Linked DNA regions of Homo sapiens: regions 2, 3, 4, 5 and 6 are each linked to region 1. The links are contacts of gene promoters, found by promoter capture Hi-C in blood cells and fetal thymus (Javierre and others, 2016). All regions are on one chromosome and are shown on one strand. Each heading gives the region's core, a stretch centred on a gene start or on the middle of the fragment in contact. The rest is flanking DNA. Distances are from core to core; before and after follow the strand shown.

Region 1 (3,756 bases), core at 1,036-3,535:
GTATGGGTCTGTGAATGTTTTATGCATTCCTACTGTGATTTCTGGTATTGAGGATGCTTAACAAGAGGCTAGGGCTTATTCTACATGCTACAGACAACTCGTAGACTTTTATAGGTGCTCTGAGTTAAAAGTAAAAATTCCATTATGTTTATACTCTATCTGAATTCATCTGAATGAAGGGAACCAGCTTCACAGTTTGAAAAAGAGCAAAGACTACTATAAAATACAAAAGAAGTTAAAGATCCAATAACTAATCTCAAAAGTCCATTTATAGCAAAGAAATATAAAGAAGTACCAATTTTATTCACCGTTTACAGATGACCCATCAGCTCAGCAGACAACATATTAAACCATTCACTTAATTTTATTTGCATTGAAGATACATACATGGAAGAAAATGGCTTAGACTTTGGACGCATTCAGACCCTAGTTTGACTTTAGTTCCCACCTATCAGTCACTAGCTAAGTAACTTTTAAAAAGGTATTTGCAACTCTGAGCCACAGTCCTCATACATAAACTAGGAACAATGTCAACCATGACCCAGGGTTGCTTTAAGGGGAAAAAAGTTAAGCAATATATATAGCAGTAACACTTTGGAACAAGATAGGTCTTGTTATTTAATATTCCTTCCTCTTTCCCCACTTGCCTGTGTGCAACAAACTTGTCTTTGGCTTTGAAACATGAAACTTCTCCCCTCTATCAGTACACATTTTTCAACTTGTCACAAATCTGAGACATTGAGAAATGACTGCAAAAAGATGGACCCATATAACATGAGTTTTGGATGACGGTTTTGGGAATGGAAAATTATACTACATTAACGATGAAGATGCCAATTTTCCTTTTCTTTTAGATTGTATATTGTAAGTAAAACTATCACTTTTTTTTTTAGGCCTTTAGGTTAAACGACGGGATATGGGATCAATTCCAATTGCTATTCCTGATATGCTCCTTAGCCTGTTCTTTAAGAGGGTTGATAGGTCAAAGATGGAAATAAAATTCTCAAGTCTTGGCTTAGCTGGATCCTGTCCTTAATACGCTGAGAGAGTCTAAAATGTGCTTTACACACGGAGAGACGGGGAGAGATGAAGAGAAGGTATCATAAGAAATTTCTCTAGCATAGTTGTCAGAGTACTGCAATCATTGCCATAAGGAAAAGGGAGAACGATATTAACAGAAAGGGAATCCCTTTTATATTAAGGAGGCAAGATGAGATGGAGTTGAAACTGAAAACTTTATGCTCTTTAAACCAGAAGTAACAGGCAACGTGAATCTTTCCAGGACTTGCCCTATGGTGGGGTCCACATGGGGGGTCGGGAGGTCACTAACTCCTGGTCCCATACCCAACTCACCCAGCTGGAGCTGTTCGCACGTCTGGCCGGGATTCTTTCCGATCCTGCATCTGTAAATCGCCCCGGGATTGATCACTGAAGCGTTGGCGAGCCAGTTGGCAGTGGGCGCACCCACTAGGAGCCTAAAGCGAGACACGTGCACGTGCGCTCAGACGTGAGCTGTGCTGCCCACTGAGCTCCCTGTCGCCACAGATGTGCAGTCCGCAGCAGGGCAGCTTCCCCACCTCCTCCTCCGCCCACCACCCCCGACTCGAAGCTCCAAGACCTTGCACCATAACGCACCCGGGGCGCTGCCGCCCCAAGATAAGTTAGTTTCCCTGGCAGATTTCCAGCGAGCTGGCTCTCGCAGCGTTTCCCTCCTGCCTCCTTGGGAGGGAGGAAAGTTTGAATCGGGCAGGGAATCCCTAGGGCGCCATTCTCACGCCGCTCTGAGCTGCTGAGGGCGCATCAGTCCAACTCTACTCACCATCGGTTCGCCCCGTGGCTGTGCAGCACGACCGAGTAGCCGAACAGCGTGTTGTGGGGGCCCTGGTAAAGCAGCGCGCTCTCAGTGTCCACGTTGTAGGGGCGGCCGGTCGGGACCCCCAGGCACAGCAACAGCATCACCGTCTCCCGGACGGCGGCCCTTCGGGGGCCGGGTTCGCGCCTCGCTTCCCAAGCCATGCGCTCTCGGTGGGGAACATTCAACACTAAACGGCCACTACCCCAAAGTTGCACGGGATGCGACGGTTGGCCAACGGGGAAGAACGCCCCAAGAGATGAGGCGCAGCGTGTCCGGCGCCAGCGGGCTAAAGGAAGGAGAGAGGGAAGAGGAGGGGAAGTCGGCCCACCGCGGGCGGAGCGTTCGGGCCGGCCTGGGATGCCGCGCACTCGCCCGGCCCCACTCCCGGTTTCTGCCGCCAGCCGGGAGCTTCGGGTGCTCGCGCTGCTTCTCCGGGTACGGGCCGCTGGGTGGGGTCCCGGGCGTGGTGCGGAGGCGCAGGGCCGGGCTCCGTCTCTGCCTACGCGCGGCTGCAGGGGGCGCTGGGGAACCTCGGCTGCGCAGGACTCGCGTCCTGGCCCGGGCCTCCCAGCCCGCAGAGCGCGGGATGGCTCTGGGCTCAGCAAGAGCGGACCTGATGGGGCACGGGCTTCCCCTTTTAACGGTGGTTGGGGCCTAGAAGCGGAGCTGTGTGACCCCAAACTGCGCGCCCCTCGCTGTGACCGCCCAGCCCGGCGTGGCCCAAATGCCAGCCACAAACTCGGGGAGTGGGACTGCGGCGGGGAGCCGTCCAGTTCTTTCGTTGATAGTTAAACACTGTGTCTTGTTTTTCAGGTGTAGGCAACCACTAGATAAATTATCAAGAGCCACAGATTAAAAACAAAAAACCAAACAAAAAGACTCGCCGAAGGCCCCTGGGGAACATTTTAGTGACAAAGACGTTATGGCTATTCTCTTCAAGACCCACATCTCAGCACCCTTCTATACCCACTTCCTTCCTCCCCACACTTCCTCTGCAGCCCGGGCTGCATGCGTGAGCAGGCTAGCAGCAGCCTCTCAGGCTGAACGGCAGGCGGTTTAGGCTGTGGCTGACCCCAACAGAGAGGTTGGGTTAAGGAAGCACTGTGACTTGATTCACTTTAACCGATTCGGATTGCTCCAGCTGGTAATTGATGATCCCCCCTTTTCACGCACCCACTCAGTTGCCACGGGACACACCTGCTTTTAGGGGTGTAAACCCCAGTGTGGGGTCAGGGTCCTAATGAGCCTCTGAAATGTGCCGGAGACCCACAACGCAACACACCTGAACTGGGTAGTGAGTCTCATTCTAATGCAATCCAGGTGTGCCCTGCCTTTTTTTTTTTTTTCCTTCAGCAACCAGAGAGACAGCCATAGGTGATTATTAGACTGATATTTTCAGGAGATGAAAGTCTAGTTTTTTATTGTTGCTATATGTAAAAAGAAAAGAAAAGTCTGCATCAAAGAGTGTGTCTGTGTGCTAAAACCATGCTGGAATAAATAACACATCTGACACTAATGACAGATACACAATTAAAATGCTTATTCATTTATTCAGCACATTCATGGAGCAGGCACTTGACTAGGACCACAGGATTCCACCAAGAGTAAGGCAGGACTGATACAAAGTTTCAAAAAATGTTCGCTCCAATGGTAGATAGAAAAATTTGTACTAACTAGAGAAAGATCCAGGTAAGGACACTTAAAGAGAGATTTGAAGGACCAGGAATCTTGAATCAGGCTAAGAATGGGATGAGCAATAAGGAGGGCTCCAGAGGAGCCAGGTAGAAGAACTGAGAGAGCTTGCCTGGCTAGAGTATTTAGCCACTCCACACACAGGTTGGTGTGATATGAGGCTGACTTAGGGAAGCAGGAATACATGGTGAACCTCATGAGCCAGGTTA
Region 2 (4,151 bases), core at 803-3,302, 270 kb after region 1:
TGTTCCTTTTCTTGTCATTAAGTTTTACAAGTTTTTTGGATATTTTGAATAACAGTCCTCTACCAGATGTCTTTTGCAAATATTGTCTCCTACCCTGTGGTTTGGTTTGTCTTCTCATTCTCTTGACATTGACTATCTTAGGGAACTTTTTAATTCTAATGAAGTCCAGCTTATCAATTATTTCTTTCAAGCATAATGCCTTTGGTGTTGTATCTAAAAAGTCATTGCCATAGTCAAAAATCATTTAGATTTTTCCTATGTTATCTTCTAGAAGTTTCAGTTATGAGCTTTACATTTCTGTCAATGATTCATTTTGAGTTAACTTGTATGAAGAGTGTAAGGTCTGTGTCTGATGCATTTGTTTGCATGTGGATATCCAAGGGTCCCAATACTCTCAGCCATTCTTTTAATGACTGAGTTTCCAGGCTCTGTAAGATCCCAACGTTCCCACTCATGTTTTATTGTGAAACAGTTTTCCTGTTCATCTCACTAAGCCATCCTTGATTTTCCCAGAGGGTCTCATGTTTATACCCAAACTCACTGATTTAGTCACATCTAAGTATTTGAGATGTGGCCTGACTATATGTCCTCCATTAGAATACCTTAGCAAATATCTGGGTGGGAGAGGTGGTCAATGACTTTGTCATAATTTTGTTTCAACTCAGTTAAAACAGACTTAATACTATCATGTATGAAAATTATTGTTCCTGACAGCTTTCTGAGTTTCATCTTATGCTTCCTTCTTTCTTTTTTTCCCATGTTTTGTGAAATAAAGCCACAAAGAGGTTTAATAACTAAATTTTGCTTGAAGAATTTAAGAGAAGGGATTATTTACTGTGAGATACATATAAATGTAATAAATCTCTATATTTTACATTTAAAACTTGTTAGCCAATATTAGATACTTTCTTGATTATCACATTTCAAATTTTTATTGCTTTATCTTGATTACAGCAATTCTTAGCACTTCATTTTCTATGATTTTTTGAAATAATCAACTCACTGTAAAAAAAACAGTTTAATAAGTAAAAAAAAGCATCTTTCCATCTGTCTTCCAGCTTCAAGAGGGCATTTTAAAGAACAATTATTACATTTCCTACACTATGTAAGAAAAGATTTGAAAGTCCAATTATTGATATTTTGTTTGTAAGGTATAAAAGTTTGTTAATAAATTAAATATCATTTCTGTCCCATAAAATGTAAAAGGAAAGATAAAGTAGCAAGAGAAAGTAATCAATGGCTATCACAATATAACTGAACTCTCAGAAGTTTGAAGAGAGTATTAAAACAAAGTGGTTGTATAATTAAAGAGTTGAGAATTACATAATGAACCCTTTTTCTTGGAATTCCAACTACTATCAGGAACCATTAATTTTGGGCAAATGAAGTTCCACTAATGTTTCTTAGAGTCTTTAGCTTCAAGCTTCTGTAAAAATACACCTTAATTGATTTTGAAGATTTAGGAAGATTTCACAGACACTAATTCCTAATGAAATAGGAATAATCATTATTCATTTTGCTTCAACATCATTTGTTAAGGCTTTAGAACTATTGTAGCCAACAGTACTTATAAGTATTTATAAAGAGTTTGTCATATCCGGAGTTAGTCTGTTGTTTTCTGGCCTTCTGTGAAAGTAGGTAAACAGAAACATGAAAAATTAAATAAATTTTTATAGGTAAGGGAAGGCTAAAGACACAAAAGTAATCAATCTTAAGCTATCTTCCCTAGAAACTGTCTCCTTTCTACCAAGCTTCTTAAAAGCGTTTTCCAATTTTTTTAAAAAAAGATAAATGTCTAAATTTCAACCACAAGGGTAACATACAAACCTCAACACATTATTTTCCTCTGACAATTCAAGCAATAAATTGCTAAGGCTCTGTAAGACTGGCTCCAAATTAAGGGGTGATATCAATTTAGAAGACTAAAAAAAACTTTAATTTCATTACAGAATTAACGAGATTAATCATTCAGTTACCCTCTTTCCCTTATTTCTATTTAATTTTCCATATAGTTTAGATATTCTGTTATTTTTTCAATAATGCCTTTGTTTTTTCCAAATAAACAATGTAATGATCCCACAATTCTTTTCAAATTAAAGTTTTACAGCAAAACTGCCATTACCTCTTTATTTTCATTGCTTTTCTTCAGAAAACAAGTTTGAAAGTTAAATACCTCTACTATAAGCCAACAAATTAAGATCATTTCTTAAACTTGTGTGCAAAGCTCCATTTGAGGCCTCCTTTGCAAAAGCCTGATTACATTTGCATGCAATCAAAGCGATAACAATTCTCCTCCAAATTACTTTGGATCCCCACAACCATGTGGACATTAGTATGTAAAAACAAAAGCTTACTGAGTTTGGGGGGATTGTCCTATTCAGAGCCTTGGCTGCTTTAATTTGAAATGAGCTCCTCTTCATTTTTTTACCTACTGCAAACAAAGAGCTCCTAGCTTTTTAGTAGCAACATTGAGAAACAATTAAAGACTGGTGAGTAGCTTTTCAAGTCATCAGCCCAGCTGAGGAATCAGCTCTTGACAGCTGGACTGATGGAATATATGAGTAGTCAAAGGAAGCCCATAAGAACCATATGGAGTGACATACCACCACTTTCAACGTGCCCAAAGGAAACTCCCACAGCTGATGGTGTTCACACAGCTGTGGGTTATTAGGAAAGAGCCTTAAATGAATGAAGGAGCCCTCTTTAGGGTCATTCACTATCATAATCATGTTAACTAAAACCTGCTGGTGGTGAAGCAACTTAGTGGAGAAGGACAATACATCACTGTTTTTTGACAGCTGACATAAGCTACAGGGAGTTCTATCTCTTCTTTCTGTCTGTTTTGAGAAATTAATTTTGTGTCTGAGTTTTACAGTTATCTACTGGGGCTAATAAATGTGGCTTTTTACCTGACTTATATAGCTGTTAAAATTCTAAAATATGCCTTTATTAAACATCTTATTTGAATTACACACAAAAAAAATACAGTCTCTACAAATTTTCTTGAAAACCTCAAGTGAATAGTCAAATAAAATTATTTTCAGCCAACATGAGGATTTTGGAATACCATCATGCATAGCCAAGACTCCATTTGAAATGATTATGTAGGGTTAGGTGTACTTCTCCCCAAATTATTTCTTTGATGTTATTGATAATGGGTTAGAAATATATTACTGATTAACCAAATACAATCATTAAGTAAAAAATACCTTTAAGAGAAACTCAACCTAAAACTGTCATTTTACAATGGAGAAGTCAGTTTATTTTCCCCCATTGAATTTCAAGTATGCCATGTTCAGAAAAAAAAATTATAATAAAATAAGGATCACATATCACAGCCTTAAAATAACTGATGACTCCTTCTATTGTTCCTTCAACAAACACTTAGCAAGCACCTGTTATGTGTTAGAGCCTGAGATCCCCTGTGATTAATAACTGTGGCTCAGTGTAAGCATTTCTCTTTCTGGACATAGCTAAGTGAAAAGTCAAGTGTTAAGCCAAATGCACTGCCTTCTGCTTCAATCCAAAAAGGGGAATGCCAAAGAATCACTCTTTTATTTCGTTATAAAATAATGATCAGATTTTTCTTATATGTGTAGATACTTTACTCAATAAGGTTAATATTGTAGAATCAATAAAAGTATGTAAATGAAAGCACAATTAAGAAATCTATTAAGTGGAAGAAATGCATGTCTTCAAGTTGTCTTTTTCAATTTTAGTGCTTGTCTATAAATGAATGGCACTTGAATCAGGACAAATCCTAAGAGAAATGTGTTACTTTTATGCAATACCATTCTTTCTCTTTACTGTGTACAGTTGTGATTCTTCATTCACAGGCAATAGCAGGTGACATTCATGGCAGACAATGAGTTGTGCATTGAGAAGCAGGGTTAGCCGCTGCTGACAGTCGGATGAGCAAGTCTGAGAATAACATTTTGCTGCTGTTTGTTGGAGAGTGTCTCCCCAACCTCAGAACACTCTATTAATTCTCCTTTTTCACTTGATATTTATTTTCAAATTTCTGGACTTAAAATGAATTCCATCCAGAAAGACAAAGAAAGAGAAACCTTACATTCATCTATCTTTTCACAAAAATAATAGCAAGTAATGGACACTTATACAAAACATACTTTTCAGGATGCTTTAAGAAG
Region 3 (4,055 bases), core at 462-2,961, 420 kb after region 1:
TTTGTAGGTTTCACTTTTTACAATTCAAAAGGTTATCCCTTATATAGAATGCATATAAATATTAAAACAAAACAGTTATTTTGCTGTAATGTACATTAATTTTAAAATATGAATACTAACCATAAAGCACCTAAGTGATCCGAATAGTTTACAAATGACTTGTATATTTATTATGTAGCTTTTCCAAGGCGGATTTTGCCATTTATCTAAATAGAATCACCTAAAATATTAGTTGTCTTTCCCCTTTCTCTAATAGTTCCTAAATTAAAAGTATCAAACTAATCTTCCCTAATGTTAGTATTTCATATTCTTCAAATATGTTAACTTTTTAAATTCTTCAAATTTTTCAAATTCTAATTTTTTTCTATTACTCAAATCATTTCACCTGTTGAAAGCCACATTTGTTCATGGAAACTTGTTCTTTAGAAACCTGAATATAAATAGAAATGAAATAAAATTCAAGGTTCACACTAAACTTTAAGCTGGACATAAAATGGTATTCTGACATGCTAGTTCCAGGAAATTTCTTTTTAATTTTTTTTATTATACTTTAAGTTCTAGGGTACATGTGCACAACGTGCAGGTTCGTTACATATGTATACATGTGCCATGTTGGTGTGCTGCACCCATTAACTTGTCATTTACATTAGGTGTATCTCCTAATGCTATCTCTCCCCGCTCCCCCCACCCCACGGTAGGTCCCGGTGTGTGATGTTCCCCTTCCTGTGTCCAAGTGTTCTCATTGTTCAATTCCCACCTATGAGTGAGAACCTGTGGTGTTTGGTTTTCTGTTCTTGCAACAGTTTGCTGAGAATGATGGTTTCCAGCTTCATCCATGTCCCTACAAAGGACATGAACTCATCCTTTCTTATGGCTGCACAGTATTCCATGGTGTATATGTGCCACATTTTCTTAATCCAGTCTATCATTGATGGACATTTGGGTTGGTTCCAAGTCTTTGCTACTGTGAATACTGCCACAATAAACATACATGTGTATGTGTCTTTATAGCAGCATGATTTATAATCCTTTGGGTATATACCCAGTAATGGGATTGGTGGGTCAAATGGTATTTCTAGTTCAAGATCCTTGAGAAATTGCCACACTGTCTTCCACAATGGTTGAACTAGTTTACAGTCCCACCAACAGTGTAAAAGTGTTCCTATTTCTCCACGTCCTCTCCAGCACCTGTTGTTTCCTGACTTTTTAATGATTGCCATTCTAACTGGTGTGAGATGGTATCTCATTGTGGTTTTGATTTGCATTTCTCTGATGGCCAGTGATGATGAGCATTTTTTCATGTGTCTTTTGGCTGCATAAATGTCTTCTTTTGAGAAGTGTCTGTTCATATCCTTCGCCCACTTGTTGATGGGGTTGTTTTTTTCTTCTAAATTTGTTTGAGTTCTTTGTAGATTCTGGGTATTAGCCCTTTGTCAGATGGGTAGCTTGCAAAAATTTTCTCCCATTCTGTAGGTTGCCTGTTCACTCTGATGGTAGTTTCTTTTGCTGTGCAGAAGCTCTTTAGTTTAATGAGATCCCATTTGTCTATTTTGGCTTTTGTTGCCATTGCTTTTGGTGTTTTAGACATGAAGTCTTTGCCCATGCCTATGTCCTAAATGGTATTGCCTAGGTTTTCTTCTAGGGTTTTTATGGTTTTAGGTCTAATATTTAAGTCTTTAATCCATCTTGAATTAATTTTTGTATAAGGTGTAAGGAAGGGATCCAGTTTCAGCTTTCTACATATGGCTAGCCACTTTTCCCAGCACCATTTATTAAATAGGAAATCCTTTCCCCATTTCTTGTTTTTGTCAGGTTTGTCAAAGATCAGATAGTTGTAGATGTGTGGTATTATTTCTGAAGGCTCTGTTCTGTTCCATTGGTCTATATCTCCGTTTTGGTACCAGTACCCTGCTGTTTTGGTTACTGTAGCCTTGTAGTATAGTTTGAAGTCAGGTAGCGTGATGCCTCCAGCTTTGCTCTTTTGGCTTAGGATTGTCTTGGCAATGCGGGCTCTTTTTTGGTGCCATATGAACTTTAAAGTAGTTGTTTCCAATTCTGTGAAGAAAGTCGTTGGTACCTTGATGGGGATGGCATTGAATCTATAAATTACCTTGGGCAGTATGGCCGTTTTTACAATATTGATTCTTCCTATCCATGAGCATGGAATGTTCTTCCATTTGTTTGTGTCCTCTTTTATTTCGTTGAGCAGTGGTTTGTAGTTCTCCTTGAAGAGGTCCTTCATATCCCTTGTAAGTTGGATTCCTAGGTATTTTATTCTCTTTGAAGCAATTGTGAATGGGAGTTCACTCATGATTTGGCTCTGCGTCTGTTATTGGTGTTTAAGAATGCTTGTGATTTTTGCACATTGATTTTGTATCCTGAGACTTTGCTGAAGTTGCTTATCAGCTTAAGGAGATTTTGGGCTGAGACAGTGTTTGATAATCCTAAATTAAAGCGCTTGCCCAAAAATTGCAGTGGTTCTGAATCAGTTGGGAATAAGGAGGCATATTTAATAATTACATTTTTGCAACTTTGTTTTCTTTGCATGTCCAAATTACAGTGTTTCAAAGAGATGGTAAATTTTTCTTAGAAGAAAATAAATATCAAGTTAAAAAATCTGGAGTTAAGAATAAAGAATAAGAATAAAGAAATGGGTCAAATGAGACACTGACAAATGAGAAAGTCCTAAGATATAAAGATATTGAAAAATACTAAATGACTCAAATGTTTCTTTGAAACTTCATTATCTTATCCACGCTATCTACTACAGAGGTTCGTTAAATAGGGGCCATTTGAATAAGTTAGTCAAATGACTTTTTTGTAACCCATGTATATAAAAGGATAATATATATTTTTTATCAGATAGCAGAAGCTGGCTCTCCAGAGGAAAAAAATATTACCGATTAAAAATTAATGTTGGATACACGTTATTTTATGCAATTGCTACCAGGTGAGTAAGACCATATTCTATTTTACTTTTCCTTTGAAATAATGATGTTCGCTTTAGCCTTCATAACACACTACTTCAACAAAAAAAGTTAATTTTGCCCTCTAAACCCAAGAAAAGCTAGGCATAAAATTTGTTCAAAGGGAGACTAGCAACTTTTGCTTCTTCAGGGAATGAAAACCTCAGCAAAGTGATTATCCACAGTTTTTGGTTTCTAGATTTTCCTAATGGAGCACCTCCCTGAAGCTGGTTTTCCATTGCAGAATACTCTTAGATTGTAAGAACAGGCTACATGGCATTTCCAAAATGGCATTTGTGAGCCGGACAAACTTTTGAGTTAAACAGAAGCAACTGGCATTTTAAAAGTCACTAGTCTGGAAACATTTAATCAGGAAAGGAGCTGATTAAAATTAAACTGTTTCACAATCATTGTCTTATACTAGAATGAGTTAAGATTATTAACTTACGACTTCTTTTTAAGTAAGCACAGTAAAGTTTCAGAACCACTAAGGATACAGAAATAGTGTATAGCCTCCAAAAATGGGTGTAAAGAAGGAATGGAATTATGAGCAAAACAAAACAAAACACCAAAACTAATAAGCAAACAGTCCTCAATCAATCAAAAAGGCAAGGCAAGGAGGAGGGGCGCAGAAAGAGAAAAACAGAAAGTAGTCGTTAAGTAAATGGTAGTAACAAACCCCTATCATAATGAATACAAACAAACCAAACTCTTAAAAGACTGTCAGACTAAATAAATAAAAACACACAGAGTAATGTGGTACTTTAAAATGACAAAAAAACAAAAACGGTAAAAATATATGCTACTGAAACATTGTAAGCTTGCTCTACATAATAAAATAGCCTCAAGGTATAGTAATACAGCAAAGATTATACAGCAATATATAAATAAAAAGTAATACAGCAAACACATTTCTACGTATCTTGTTTTTGACAACCAGAGGGAAAAAATGAAGATACAGAATATCTGAACCACATAATAAATGAACATGATTTAATGAAAACATAGCAAACCCTATATGTAACAATCAGAGAAGAGATATTTTTCTCAAGCACACTGGACATATGTATAAAATCTAACAATACATTA
Region 4 (4,247 bases), core at 644-3,143, 480 kb before region 1:
GAGTGATAGTTTATTTGAAGCCCTTAAAACCTCCTAAAGTGATGGATTGGAAACAACATCTTGTTCCTCAAATCCCAGTCATATTAGAAATATGAAATGCCCTTTGAAGACAGAAACATGAAGATTTAAGACACATACAGGAGAATGATTTACCCAAGCAAGGCAATGCATAATCTGATGCTACAAAACAGTAGTGTGAGAAGGCCTGCTTCCAAACTCTAAACATTTGAAGATCCAAAGCCTTCTTTGTTTTATATTGTTTCCTCTACCTTCAGCTCAAGTTAATACATTCTTTAAAAATCCTTGTAGATTTCTGTGTATCAATTGATAACCAACTCCGTTAGACAAAAACCAAATTTGCAAAGCTCTTCAAGATAAGCCCTTATCTATTTGGGGTTTTCTTGAGACTCCTATGGGAATATATCCTTAGGAGTCTTGGGCACTTGAGCACCCAATTATTTAACAGAGAAGAGATGGCCAGGCAGGCCTTAAGATCCATAAAAATACCTTTTTCTGTTTGAAATGTTTTGTGAGCCACTCTCTTAAATCTTTCTTAAGTACTAACAAAGAATCTTATGGATCCACCCTTGATTTTATCTTTTCCAGAGCCATTTTTAATTTAGTAATTGTTTTTAGAGGATCAGGGCATAAGACACAATTTTATTTCAAACCTGGCAAGTTCTGACTCTTTTATATTTAAAGGTTATTTTTAGCTCATCTCTCTTGTCTCACATTTTATCATAGGTGATGAAAAAAAAATCAGGTGGCATTTTGAATATTCTGCCTGGAAATCTTAACTAGATCATTGAGTTTAGCAGGTATATTTCCACTTTGCCACATTAACACAGATGATTATGTTGGCAAACTCTGTGCCGTCATCCAACAAGGCTTCCCATTCCTTTAGCTTCCAATACCATTGTCCTCACTTTCCTTTAAACCTTCACTGAGAGCCTCCTCAAGGTCTTTCAGGTTTCCACTAGCAGTCTACTTGAGAGCCTTTGGTTTTCACTAAGCATCTCTTCAAAGCCCTTCCAGCTGCTTCCCACAGTCCAGGCCCAAAGCCAATGCCCAAATATAGGGTTTTGTTATGGCAGCATCCTACTTCTAGATACCAAAATTTGTCACAGATATCTATGCGCACATAAAGTATCCTGAAAGCTTAGTGTCTTGAAGCAACAGCAATCATTCATTTCGTTCATGAATTCACAATTCAGGCAGGGCTTAACAGGGACAACTTGTTTCAATTCATTGTGATATCACCTGGGGTGGCTTGACTAGCGGTGGAGAATCCACGTTCATGATAACTTTCTCATATGATTGGCGATTTGGTGCTGTCTGTTGGCTGGGAGTTCCTCCAGGGCCAAAGGCCAGAAGCTTCTGTCTTCCTCCATGTAGGCCTCTTCCCAGGCTTCTTGGTCTTCCTGACAGTATGATGTTTGGGTTCCAAGACCAAGAATTCAAAGAGAATCAGATAAAAGTGCATGGCATTTTTCATGTTCTAACCTTGAAAGTCACAGGTTATTACCTTCACCACATTCTATTTTTCATATTGTTCAAAAGCAGTCACAGAGACCAACCAGTTGCAAGAGGAGGAAGACATACAGACTACAGTTCTTAATGAGGAAATTGCAAAGTTTTAGAAGAGTAGTTGGGATAGGAGATTCTTTTGGACCTATCTTTAAAAAATATAATCTGCCACATTAAGTAAACAAAGAATTGCATAGAGACATTAATAATTCAGAGGATATATTTTTTATCAATGATGTCAAAATTATGGAGAAGAATTAAACACTCCATAATATAGCTCTTCTTCTTCCCTGACAGTAAACAAAATATATCTAGATGGATTATAGATCTGACCGAGTTTGGAAATCCTTATGTTCATAAAGTGGACATATTCTTGTAAAACATTATCATACTAAAATTTAAATAATTACATATCTCAATAAAAATTATCTGTTGTTTTTAATAATGGAGGAAAAGTCAATATTTTCCATTTAGTTCAACTCCATTTAACAAATATTTATAGAACACTTACTACATACCAAACACTGTGCTAGGTATATGATAGTAGGTAAGGCATGTTTCTGTCTTATTATAATTGGGAAGACTAAATGGTTAATTGCAATATAGTATAATAAATGAAAAAAATTAAAAGATATGTACTACACACACATGAAAATAAATAGAATCGGACCATTAACTTACACCATGTACAAAAATTAACTCAACAGGAATAAAATACATAAATTTAAGAGCTAAAATTATAAAATTCTTAGGCAATAAATAAGAGTAAATCTTTATGACCTGGGCTAAGCAATGGTTTCTTAGATATGACACCAAAATGCAGATGCAACAAAAGACAGAAATAGATCAATTAAATTTTATCCAAACTAAAATCTTTCAAGCTTCAAAGCACACTATCAAGAAGATGAAAAGACAACCCATAAAATAGGAGAAAAATGTTGCAAATCCTGTATCTAAGGAACTTGCATCTAAGGAACTTGCACCTAGAAAACGTAAAGACTTCACATACTCAATAATAGGAAGACAAATAACTCACTTTAAAAACAATGGTTAAATGATGTAAGCAGACATTTCTCCAAAGAAGATATATAAATGCCCAATAAGTGCACAAAAAGATGCTCAACATCATTCAGGGAAATGCACATGAAAACCACGATGAGCTACCACCTCACACCTGCTAGAATGGTTAGAATAAAAAAAGACTGACCACTACAAGTTTAGCAAGGATGTGGAAAAATTGCAACCCCCATACATTACTGATGGATGTAGAGTTGTTCAGTCACTTTAGAAGACAATCCTTGGCCAGGTGCAATGGCTCATACCTGTAATCCCAGCACTTTGGGAGGCCAAGGTGAGTGGATCACGAGGTCAGGAGATCAAGACCATCCTGGCCAACATGATGAAACCCTGTCTGTACTAAAAATACAAAAATTAGCTGGGCGTGGTGGTGTGTGCCTGTAGTCCTAGCTACTTGGGAGGCTGAGGCAGAAGAATCACTTGAACCCAGGAGGTGGAGGTTGTAGTGAGCCAATATTGCACCACTGCACTCCAGCCTGGGTGACAGAGCGACACTCCATCTCAAAAAAAAAAAAAAAAAAAAGACGATCCTCAAAATGTTAAACATAGAGTTACCATATGACCCAGCAAATCCACTCCTAGCTGTCTACGCAAAAGGAATGAAAACACGTGTCTTTAGAAAAACTTGCACATAAATGTTCATAGCAGCATTATTTATAATAAACAAAGAATGGAAAGAACCCAAATGTCCCAAATGTCTATCAGCTGATAAATAGGTAAACAAAATGAGGGCATATTCATATAATGCCGGCATGTATATATAAGGGAATATTATTTGGCAATAAAAAAGGACAAAGTACTGAGGTATGCTACAACATGATAAACCTTGCAAACATTATTCTAAGTGAGGAAACCAGCCACAAAAAGTCACACATGGTATGATTCCATTTATATGAAATGTCCAGAATAGGCAAGTCTATAGAGACAGGAAGCAGATTAGTAGCTACCTAGAGCTATGGTGGGTGTGGGTTGAGGAGAAATAAGGAGTGACTGCTAGTGGGTACTGGGAGTTTTAGGGGGTAATGAAAATGTTTTAAAATTAATTGTGATGATGGTTGCAGAACTCTGTAAACATACTAAAGACCGTTGATTTGTATGTATTATTAAATGAGTGAATTTTATGATCTGTGAATATTTCAATAAAGCTAATATGCATCTGCACACACACATATGTACACACACACATTTAAATGTATGTCCTAGGTACATTGGAAACACAAAGCGGTGATTTCTGCTTGGTGGGTCACAAAGGGCTTCATGGAGAGATAGATGTTTGAAGCATGGGTGGCATCGGAGAAAAAGGAAAGGACTTCCAAGCAGAGAGGGCAAAACTTGCAAATACAGGGAAGCATGGAGCAGCATGGTTGAGTATGACTGAAGCACAGTTGCATATTGAGGGATTCAAGAAATGAGGATTGGAGAAAGGAAAGGGATGCATTTGGCTGGGCGCAGTGGCTCACACCTGTAATCCCAGCACTTTGGGAGTCTGAGATGGGCAGATTGCTTGAGCCCAGGAGCTTGAGATCAACCTGGGCAACATAATGAGACCCTATCTCAACAAAATTACAAAAATTAGCTGGGTGTGTTGACACGTGCCTGTAGTCTCAGCTACCTGGGAGGCTGAGATGGATGGATCATCTGAG
Region 5 (4,225 bases), core at 935-3,434, 330 kb after region 1:
TACATATTTCAGCCAACTTTGAGCCCTCTAGTCTCCGTTTCCATACCCTGTTCAACAAAATCACACTGCACAATTTCCCTACAAAGCTAATGCTTATGACCTGGTGAATATCCTACTATATGAATCATTCTTATGTGATGATAGATAGATTAAATAGATGGATAGATACATATATATGTAGATCACTGCTCAGGGTCCTATTATACAAACTTTTCTGCACCTCCACTTCTTCCTTAATAATAAACTTTGAAACTCCCTGGATGACATTGATCTAATTCTATTCTTCTTGATGACTTCATCATATTATTGATATGCCACAATTTATCTAACCATTCTCTTACCAAAGGATATTCTATTTGCTTTATCTTTTCGTTCATTTGCTACCACAAATTATTCATGCAACAAGTCTTAATACACTCTATGCGCCTGTTCAACTCCAGGAATAGAGCAATGAACAAAACAAAGTTCCCACTTTCCTAAAGAATCCATTCTAGTGGAGGGGACAGGCACTAATTTAATATGTAACATAATGTTATATTTTTATGAAGCTAAACAAGGGGATACAAAGTTACAGGAAATTTCTTATTACTTTAAATGGGGTAGCCAGGGAAGAGCTCTCTGAGGAGGTATTTGATCAGAAACCTGAATGACTTGAGGGAGTAAGCCATGAGGCCTGTTAAGAGAGGAGCAATCCAGTCAGAAGGAACAGCAAGCAGCAAGCACCCGAGTTCTGAGGGAGAGATACTCAGCGAGACTGGGAACACTTGTGAATGCCACTACAGTAAATGCAGAGTGACAGAAGGGCAGGAAAAGGGACCAGACATATATCTTGCCCAAGGTCCAGGTGATGCAGTGCCTGGTAGGCTATAGAAGGAACTTCAGCAAATGCCACAATAAATATCCACATATATTGCTAGATTCATCTCCAAAAAGGCTATCAGAACTCACATTTCTATGAGCAGTCTACAAACATAGGCAGCCAGGTTCCAAAGTCTATGCAGCAGCTGTTTGTCAGCCGTTTCAGTTTGCTTTTAAAAAACATTTATCTATAACTTGAAAAAGTATTAGGAGAGTGAAATATCTGTATATAAAAGCTACACAAATGCAAATATTCTTGTTAGTTTATCACATCTGTCAAACCCAGAAAGCTCTGTATATTAGACCCATCAGTGGGAAACCAGACAGTTTCACAGTGAAAAAAAATCTCCATCTGAGAAAAATAAAATAAAATTCTGGTATAATCTCTGGTCCAGTTACCTCTGGAGAAATAGTTGACAGGACTAGAACTGGGGACTACAAATTGGCAGTGGCCACACACAGCTATAGGACAGAATAAGTTGCTAAGAGGCCTAACATGTATCATCATGAGATAGAATTTTCTAGGTTGGAAGGAAATGGTCTTTTTAATATGCCAAAATGTTGACTTTCAACTATAATCATAATAAAGCAATTTATATCAATAAAAATACATAAAATGGGTAAAAATAAAAGCTAAAGGAACTTGTTTTAGTTATTATTGTCCAATCTTTTCTTAAAACCTCTGGTTTCATCTTCTTCCACTGACATCTTACATTCTGTGAAGGAGGAAGTAGGGGGGATGGAAACGGCTTTAAAGAAGCACAAAAGGCCTGAAGGTCAATAGGGAGGCAAATACTCAAAGAATGAGAACCGCAGATATCTAATAAAGTCTATGTTGCCTTTTCATGCAAAAGGCATAAGGAATGCTTAATCATCTAATATTTACAATGTAGGAAAAAGCTATTTCACGTTGAAATTTGTAGCATTTTTGGGTGATTATGAAACCCTCATTTAAAATAGCCATGTATCCTCTATTTAGCAAACCAAGACTACAAGAAATCTTAGACATGATATTAATACCCCAAAGTTTAAAACTCCAGATGTGAAGAAAAGCCAGAGAATGCCTGCTGTGTAATAAGGCCTATATCTCTTTGGAATCATGGATTTAATTAAGTTTCAATTTGCATCTTGGGCAAAAAGATAGACTGTTAGAATGAAACAAAAAGAAAGAGGGAAAAAGCCTTCTAAAAAACAAAGTGTCAATAAAATTTTAGTTATATTCTCTAGCCATCATTTGGCTTTTAAAATTCTGATAACATTCCCTCAAAAAACAAAGCATTTCCTTTTGTCTAGACAACATAACCTGCTTCTGTCTCAGATAGGCCACTTGGGAACCCAGGATCTGACTCATTTCCCTCACACCATATATGATTCCATATAAAACAGGGCTATATGTCCCTTCCACAGCCCAAATAGGGATCCCCAAAAGGCGGTGCTTCCTATCATTCTTGGGCCAATGTTTTCACCAAGTTCTGTTTGAAAATGTATTTGTTCCTGTTTTCTTTGCACTTACCTTGTGAGGTCTCATCTCCATGACATCTGACAGTGGCTTTGGGTGTTGCCTAAAGAGAAAGCAGCAAGCAACAGTTACAGAGGTGGTTTCCTGTGGAGCAGGCAACTTAACACAGCTAAGTTCAGGTCATTCTCTGAATACTAAAACTGAGAAGTCAACGATAGTGTAATATCAGATAGCTAAATGTTTTCACTATACCCACACATGTAGTAAAGAATTTAGGCTGCTGAATTTTCTTTAACTACAGGGTTCTGCTTTTCAAAAAAAATGTTTTCAACTTACAAAGACTTTTATAACAGACTGCCTTTTTGAGAAAGGAAAGCCTTCTTTCTTTATATTATCCAGGAACCATTATACGCATCCCATAGAATGTATTGCTGATACTTCTTAGAAGTATCTTCAGAAAAGGGTCTTATCTTATATTTATTATCTTATATTTATTTATATATTTATTATATTATATTATATGTTATATATAAATATATTATATATTTATATAATTATATATTATATATTTATATATAAATAAATATATTATATTATATATTATATAAATATTTATATTTATATATAATGTATATAATATTATTATATATTATATATATTTATTATATATATAATTAATATATAATAAAATTATATATTATATATATTTATTATATATATAATTAATATATAATAAAATTATATATTATATATAAATATATTATATATTTATATAATTATAAATTATATATTATATATAAATAAATATATTATATTATATATTATATATAAATAAATATTTGTATTTATTTATATATAATATATAAAATATTTATATATTATAAATAAATATAAGATATAAAATACCAGTAAAATGTGTTCCTAGGAGTTGAATATATGCATGCATATGGCATTTGCTTGTTTGTTCATTGATTCATTTATTCATTCAATGAATTTACTGAACATATATTGAGTTTCTCTTTTTTGTGCCCTGAGGATATAACCACAAATAAGACATAATCTCTGTCCTCAATAAGTTCATAAAATCTTATGATTTTATGGGAAATCACAAGATGGGAAAAGAAAACTGGACAAATAATTATGAATATTATGTGAGAATTACAACAATAGGAATTTATATAGAATACATTGGGCCTCAAGTGGGGAAACGGGCATTCTAATTAGCGTAAAAGAGCTGATCAAAGGAGTTGATTCTTGAACTGTGGTAAAGAATATTGTGTGGTCATTTTTCATGCAAGGAAGTGCATTCCCAGCTGGGAGTCTAGCATATTCAAAGATCCAGAGGCACAAAACAATATAGCACTTTCTGGTAACTGTAGCTAGTTCTATATTGATAGAGTGTAGAGGACTCTAAAAAGGAATAAGACTGAGATATTAGCAAAATGATTTTTAACATCAGGAGGCATTTCTTTCAGAGAACAAAAATAAATAACAAGTATATCCATGAAATACTTCTTGAGAAATATTTTGGTTAAAGATTGAACACTTTGAAGAACAATTAAGTATGAAGCACTTCAATACTTTGGCTCATGTCTGAAAAATACATAGATATTGCATATTTTCACAATGGCAAATATTCAGACTAAGTGCTAACACATGAAGCTGAACTAGATTATAAAATACTAATCTCTTTTGAGGAAACTATATTTTTATGTATCAGAATGGCTTAGAGCCAATAGAAAATTACAGCCTGTATAATAGTGTCTGGCACAGAGTAGGCTCTCAACAAATAGGTGTTGATGGAAATACCACATTGAGGCAGCTTTTGGCAAACAAAGAAATGCTTTGGGCACCAACCCAGGCTCTCCAGCTTAAAACTGTTACTGCTCCTTCTGCAATTAGAGACTT
Region 6 (3,838 bases), core at 557-3,056, 310 kb after region 1:
ATAAAAACATTTTCTCACCCATGACTACTCAATAAATCAGAAAACGTTTATTTAAATCTTTAATTTCTGTAAAACTAGACTTCAATTTAACCACTTAGCCTTTCTAGATTATATTTCCCTGTTCCTACTGGCGGTAGACCAGTTGAAGATAAATGATTTTCTATTTCAATCACACTTGAACATGGTACAGCCAGTAATAATTAGTATAAGAGCAATGCAACTGGATTCTAGTATAAATAAAATAAAATATCTCCACTTTATTTCATTTCCTTTAGGCTTTCTTGCAGAATTTAGTGAATCAATTATTAAATATTAGTATCACTCATTGAGTTAGATAATCTACTATCTTCATTATTCTGGTCTTAACCTATTCACTCTCTTTGCCTGGACTGGTTTTTCATAGAGACACAACATAAATTGGCTGGCTAGATTTAAAGCTCTTCACCTTTAGGTATTTTCTTTACTATTCTTTTAAAAATATAATCCTTGCAAATTTAGACACCACAGAAAACTGTTATTTGCCTCATAATAGCCTCTTCAGTGTGTTTCACAGTCTTTTGTGGAAAATAATGACATAATGATAGTGTTCTCAAACCTATATTTCTACTTGATAAACTAGCAATTATATGATTAAAGCATTTTTAGAAACTCACATTAAGTATATGATACTCTAGAAACCAGTCCATCATGTAATTACACAGTCAGGGGAGAAATAATTTACATAACTAAAAACCATTTGAAACGCTGTTTCAAATCAAGACCAGTATGTGATTTTTTAATGAATAAAAATTTAAGAAATATTAAATTATACATATAACACACTTTAATGTTGATTGGAACTACACATTTTATATTTTATAAGTTGGGTTTAAACTATTATATTATAAAAGATTTTACTAAAGGGATTGGTAAAAAGAAGCTGTTAAACTCTATTGGAAACAAGTGTTAATGTGCTGAATACATTAGGATGAACCCAGATAAACCTGATGATTTCTCTTTAAATAAAACATATGCTTACTGAGAACAGAGGCAGGCAATGCTTAGGCATTTGAGCTCTGTAATGCACACAAATTTGCCAACGATTTTTCTTAGCTATATATTAAAGACTAATTTAACTAGAGCTTTGTGATTTGCTTGAATATCAAATCATTACACCAGCATTGTGCTGAGTTGTAAGAGATATAAATATATTTATACACATCATTTATGAGTCTTTTTAAGAAAGAAAAATAAAATATATTTATATCGAGTTACAGCTATAAAAAAAATCTATCTCTTTAAGGATACACAAGAAACCTACAGCACACATTACCTGTTTGTGGCCATGATGGGGAAGAATGTGTGAAAATTAAACAGCGGGATGGGAAGGAAAGAAGGCTTTTCACAGATATCTATATACTTTCTGGGTTTTGACTCATTTGAATATATTACCTACTCAAAAACTATGTCAATCATAAAAATGAAAGAAAGAAGCTTGGTCCCTGTGTGGAATAGGGACTGTGAGCTAGGTCAAGTATATTCTTTGCTAAGATACAAGGTGAGCTTTAAGAGTGAAAGGCACCAAAGTTAGATGCCCCTTGTTACTGGTGTATTCCACCACTACACTCCTCAGTGGCATTGGCTTGTATGTTTTCTAACTCAAGAGTAATAGGAAAACATGCCATATTTTATGTTATAATTATAGCAACATGGCAGAGTCAGGCCACCACAGGAAACTTGGGTATCCATGCCTGGTGATCAGCATAATAATACGTACTTTTGACAGTTTTTCACACAGATGGTGAGGAAACCAGTCATGGCCAACAACTAAGTACCACCATTCTATGTAATGCTTAACCTCAGCCCTCAGTAACGTCATTGGGACACCCATTCTCAAAACCTCTGCCATTTAAAGCACTACAAAGGGCTGAGAATAAAAATAAAGACAGCTAACAAAGTACACCCACAACATAACAACCATGCTGATCTCACCAAACTTATGTGCAATTATCTGGTTCTTCTAGATCTACACTTCCTGAGTCATTCATTTTGTGACTATGCTGGTATTTGGAAACAAGGTAAAAGAATTGTTAATTTGTGAGCTCTTGTATAAACGATAAATATGATTGAGAAACCATGTAACAGTAGTGTAAAGCTTCACAAATCCACCATACATAAGATGCTGTGGCTGCACTACAGCAATGGTAGGTAGTAAGAGATGACAACTTGCTAGCAGCCCTCGCTTGCTCTCCATGCCTCCTCGGCCTGGGTGTCCACTCTGGCCACACTGGAGGAGCCCTTTAGCCCACCACTGCGCTGTGGGGGCCCCTCTCTGGGGCTGGCCAAGGCCGGAGCCGGCTCCCTCTGCTCGTAGGGAGGTGTGGAGGAAGAGGCGCCCGTGGCAGCCGGGGCTGCGCAAGGCGCTCGCAGGCAGGTGCGGGTTTGGGGTGGGCGCGGGCTCCGCAGCCCCTGCACTCAGCTCGGCCTGCGGGCGCCTGCTGCGCTTGATCGTGGGAGGAGCTCCCTCTGGGCTGCCAGAGTGCCCTGGCTATGTACCCCAAAGTCCCGTGGGTAGTGCCATTGAGAGATGAAGCCGGCTGGGCTTTTGGGTCAGGTGGGGGCTTGGAGAACTTTTCTGTCTAGCTAAAGGATTGTAAATGCACCAATCAACACTCTGCGTCTAGCTAAAGGTTTGTAAACGCACCAGTCAGCGCTCTGTGTCTAACTAATCGGGTAGGGGACTTGGAGAACTTTTGTGTCTAGCTAAAGGATTGTAAATGCACCAATCAGCGCTCTGTCAAAACGGACCAATCAGCACTCTGTAAAACGGACCAATCAGCTCTCTGTAAAGTGGACCAATCAGTAGGATGTGGGTGGGGCCAGATAAGGGAATAAAAGCAGGCCACCCAAACCCTCTCCGGCAACCTGCTTGGGTCTTCTTCCACTTTGTGGAAGCTTTGTTCTTTTGCTTTTCATAATAACTCTTGCTGTTGCTCACTTTTTAGGTTTGTGCTGCTTTTATGAGCTGTAACACTCACTGTGAAAGTCTGCAGCTTTACTACTGAAGCCAGCAAGACCACGAACCCACAGGGAGGGACAGACAACTGGGAATGGGAAGAAGGAACAACTCTGGGTGCTTTGTGAACTGTCACTGTCACACTCACGGCGAAAGTTTGCAGCTTCACTCCTGAGGCCAGTGAGACAACAAACCCCACCGGAGGGAACAAACAACTCCAGATGCGCCACCTTTAGGAGCTGTAACACTCACCGCAAAGGTCTGCAGCTTCACTCCTGAAGCCAGTGAGACTATGAGCCCAACAAAAGGAAGAAACTCCGGACACATCTGAACATCTGAAGGAACAAACGCTGGACACACCATCTTTAGGAACTGTAACACTCACCACAAGGGTCTATGGCTTCATTTTTGAAGTCAGCGAGACCAAGAACCCACCAATTTCGAACACAGTAGGGCTGGAATTGCGAGCTATACTTTCTGTCACTTAGCAGCGAAGAGCCTGTCCTAAGACTAGTAAGTAGCAGGACTAGGACTCCCTCCCAGGTCTCTGAGCTCATGTTCACTGCTATTATCTGTCACGTGTTCAGCGTCAGGGTTTTTTCTCTTTTCCCAAGTAGCAAAGGCTTTTCACAATTGTGTTGCAAAGACCACACCAGAAACAAGACATACAATACTTGATAACATTTTCTGCTTCACCGATGGAGGACTACAACAACATGTGAGGTTTTCTGGCCTTTAATTTCTTTGAAAAGGTCAAAACTGTTAAAAAGGAACTACTTACTGTATTTTGCTAAAAAACATAAACATTGCAACATTTCAGCTTTCAACTTAGAACATAGGAAC

The links. The method cuts DNA at HindIII sites, captures the fragments that hold promoters and counts their contacts. A CHiCAGO score of 5 or more calls a contact.
Region 2: a fragment that was not itself captured here is called in contact with the fragment with the promoter of ITGA4 in region 1 in 16 of 17 cell types (naive CD8 T cells, total CD8 T cells, total CD4 T cells and 13 more); the score reaches 25.0 in naive CD8 T cells.
Region 3: a fragment that was not itself captured here is called in contact with the fragment with the promoter of ITGA4 in region 1 in 2 of 17 cell types (total CD4 T cells and naive CD8 T cells); the score reaches 5.5 in total CD4 T cells.
Region 4: a contact is called between a fragment that was not itself captured here and the fragment with the promoter of ITGA4 in region 1, in 1 of 17 cell types (fetal thymus). The highest score is 5.4, in fetal thymus.
Region 5: a contact is called between a fragment that was not itself captured here and the fragment with the promoter of ITGA4 in region 1, in 14 of 17 cell types (total CD8 T cells, naive CD8 T cells, total CD4 T cells and 11 more). The highest score is 30.0, in total CD8 T cells.
Region 6: a fragment that was not itself captured here is called in contact with the fragment with the promoter of ITGA4 in region 1 in 16 of 17 cell types (total CD8 T cells, naive CD8 T cells, non-activated CD4 T cells and 13 more); the score reaches 35.8 in total CD8 T cells.

What each region holds. Positions count from the first base shown.
Region 1 is chr2:181,455,915-181,459,670 of GRCh38, reverse strand. ITGA4 (integrin subunit alpha 4) reads right to left here and starts at 2,285. Exons shown (of 28, transcript NM_000885.6): 1 at 1,820-2,285; 2 at 1,354-1,475. The coding sequence starts at 2,016. RefSeq lists enhancers at 1,239-1,288, 1,649-1,698, 1,759-1,948, 2,669-2,778 and a silencer at 2,099-2,488. The HindIII fragment of the contact is 9,740 bases long and covers 1-3,756 here.
Region 2 is chr2:181,189,397-181,193,547 of GRCh38, reverse strand. All of the region lies in intron 1 of LINC01934 (long intergenic non-protein coding RNA 1934), which reads right to left. Among named protein-coding and RNA genes, the nearest start is that of LINC01934, 68 kb to the right of the region's middle. The HindIII fragment of the contact is 598 bases long and covers 1,754-2,351 here.
Region 3 is chr2:181,031,164-181,035,218 of GRCh38, reverse strand. The region is part of intron 3 of UBE2E3 (ubiquitin conjugating enzyme E2 E3); the gene reads right to left. Among named protein-coding and RNA genes, the nearest start is that of UBE2E3-DT, 52 kb to the right of the region's middle. The HindIII fragment of the contact is 4,155 bases long and covers 1-3,788 here.
Region 4 is chr2:181,938,670-181,942,916 of GRCh38, reverse strand. No RefSeq gene overlaps it. Among named protein-coding and RNA genes, the nearest start is that of PPP1R1C, 45 kb to the left of the region's middle. The HindIII fragment of the contact is 1,034 bases long and covers 1,377-2,410 here.
Region 5 is chr2:181,122,127-181,126,351 of GRCh38, reverse strand. LINC01934 (long intergenic non-protein coding RNA 1934) reads right to left here and starts at 2,515. Exons shown (of 5, transcript NR_130784.1): 1 at 2,372-2,515. RefSeq lists an enhancer at 2,149-2,248. The HindIII fragment of the contact is 8,385 bases long and covers 1-4,225 here.
Region 6 is chr2:181,144,378-181,148,215 of GRCh38, reverse strand. All of the region lies in intron 1 of LINC01934 (long intergenic non-protein coding RNA 1934), which reads right to left. Among named protein-coding and RNA genes, the nearest start is that of LINC01934, 22 kb to the right of the region's middle. The HindIII fragment of the contact is 661 bases long and covers 1,476-2,136 here.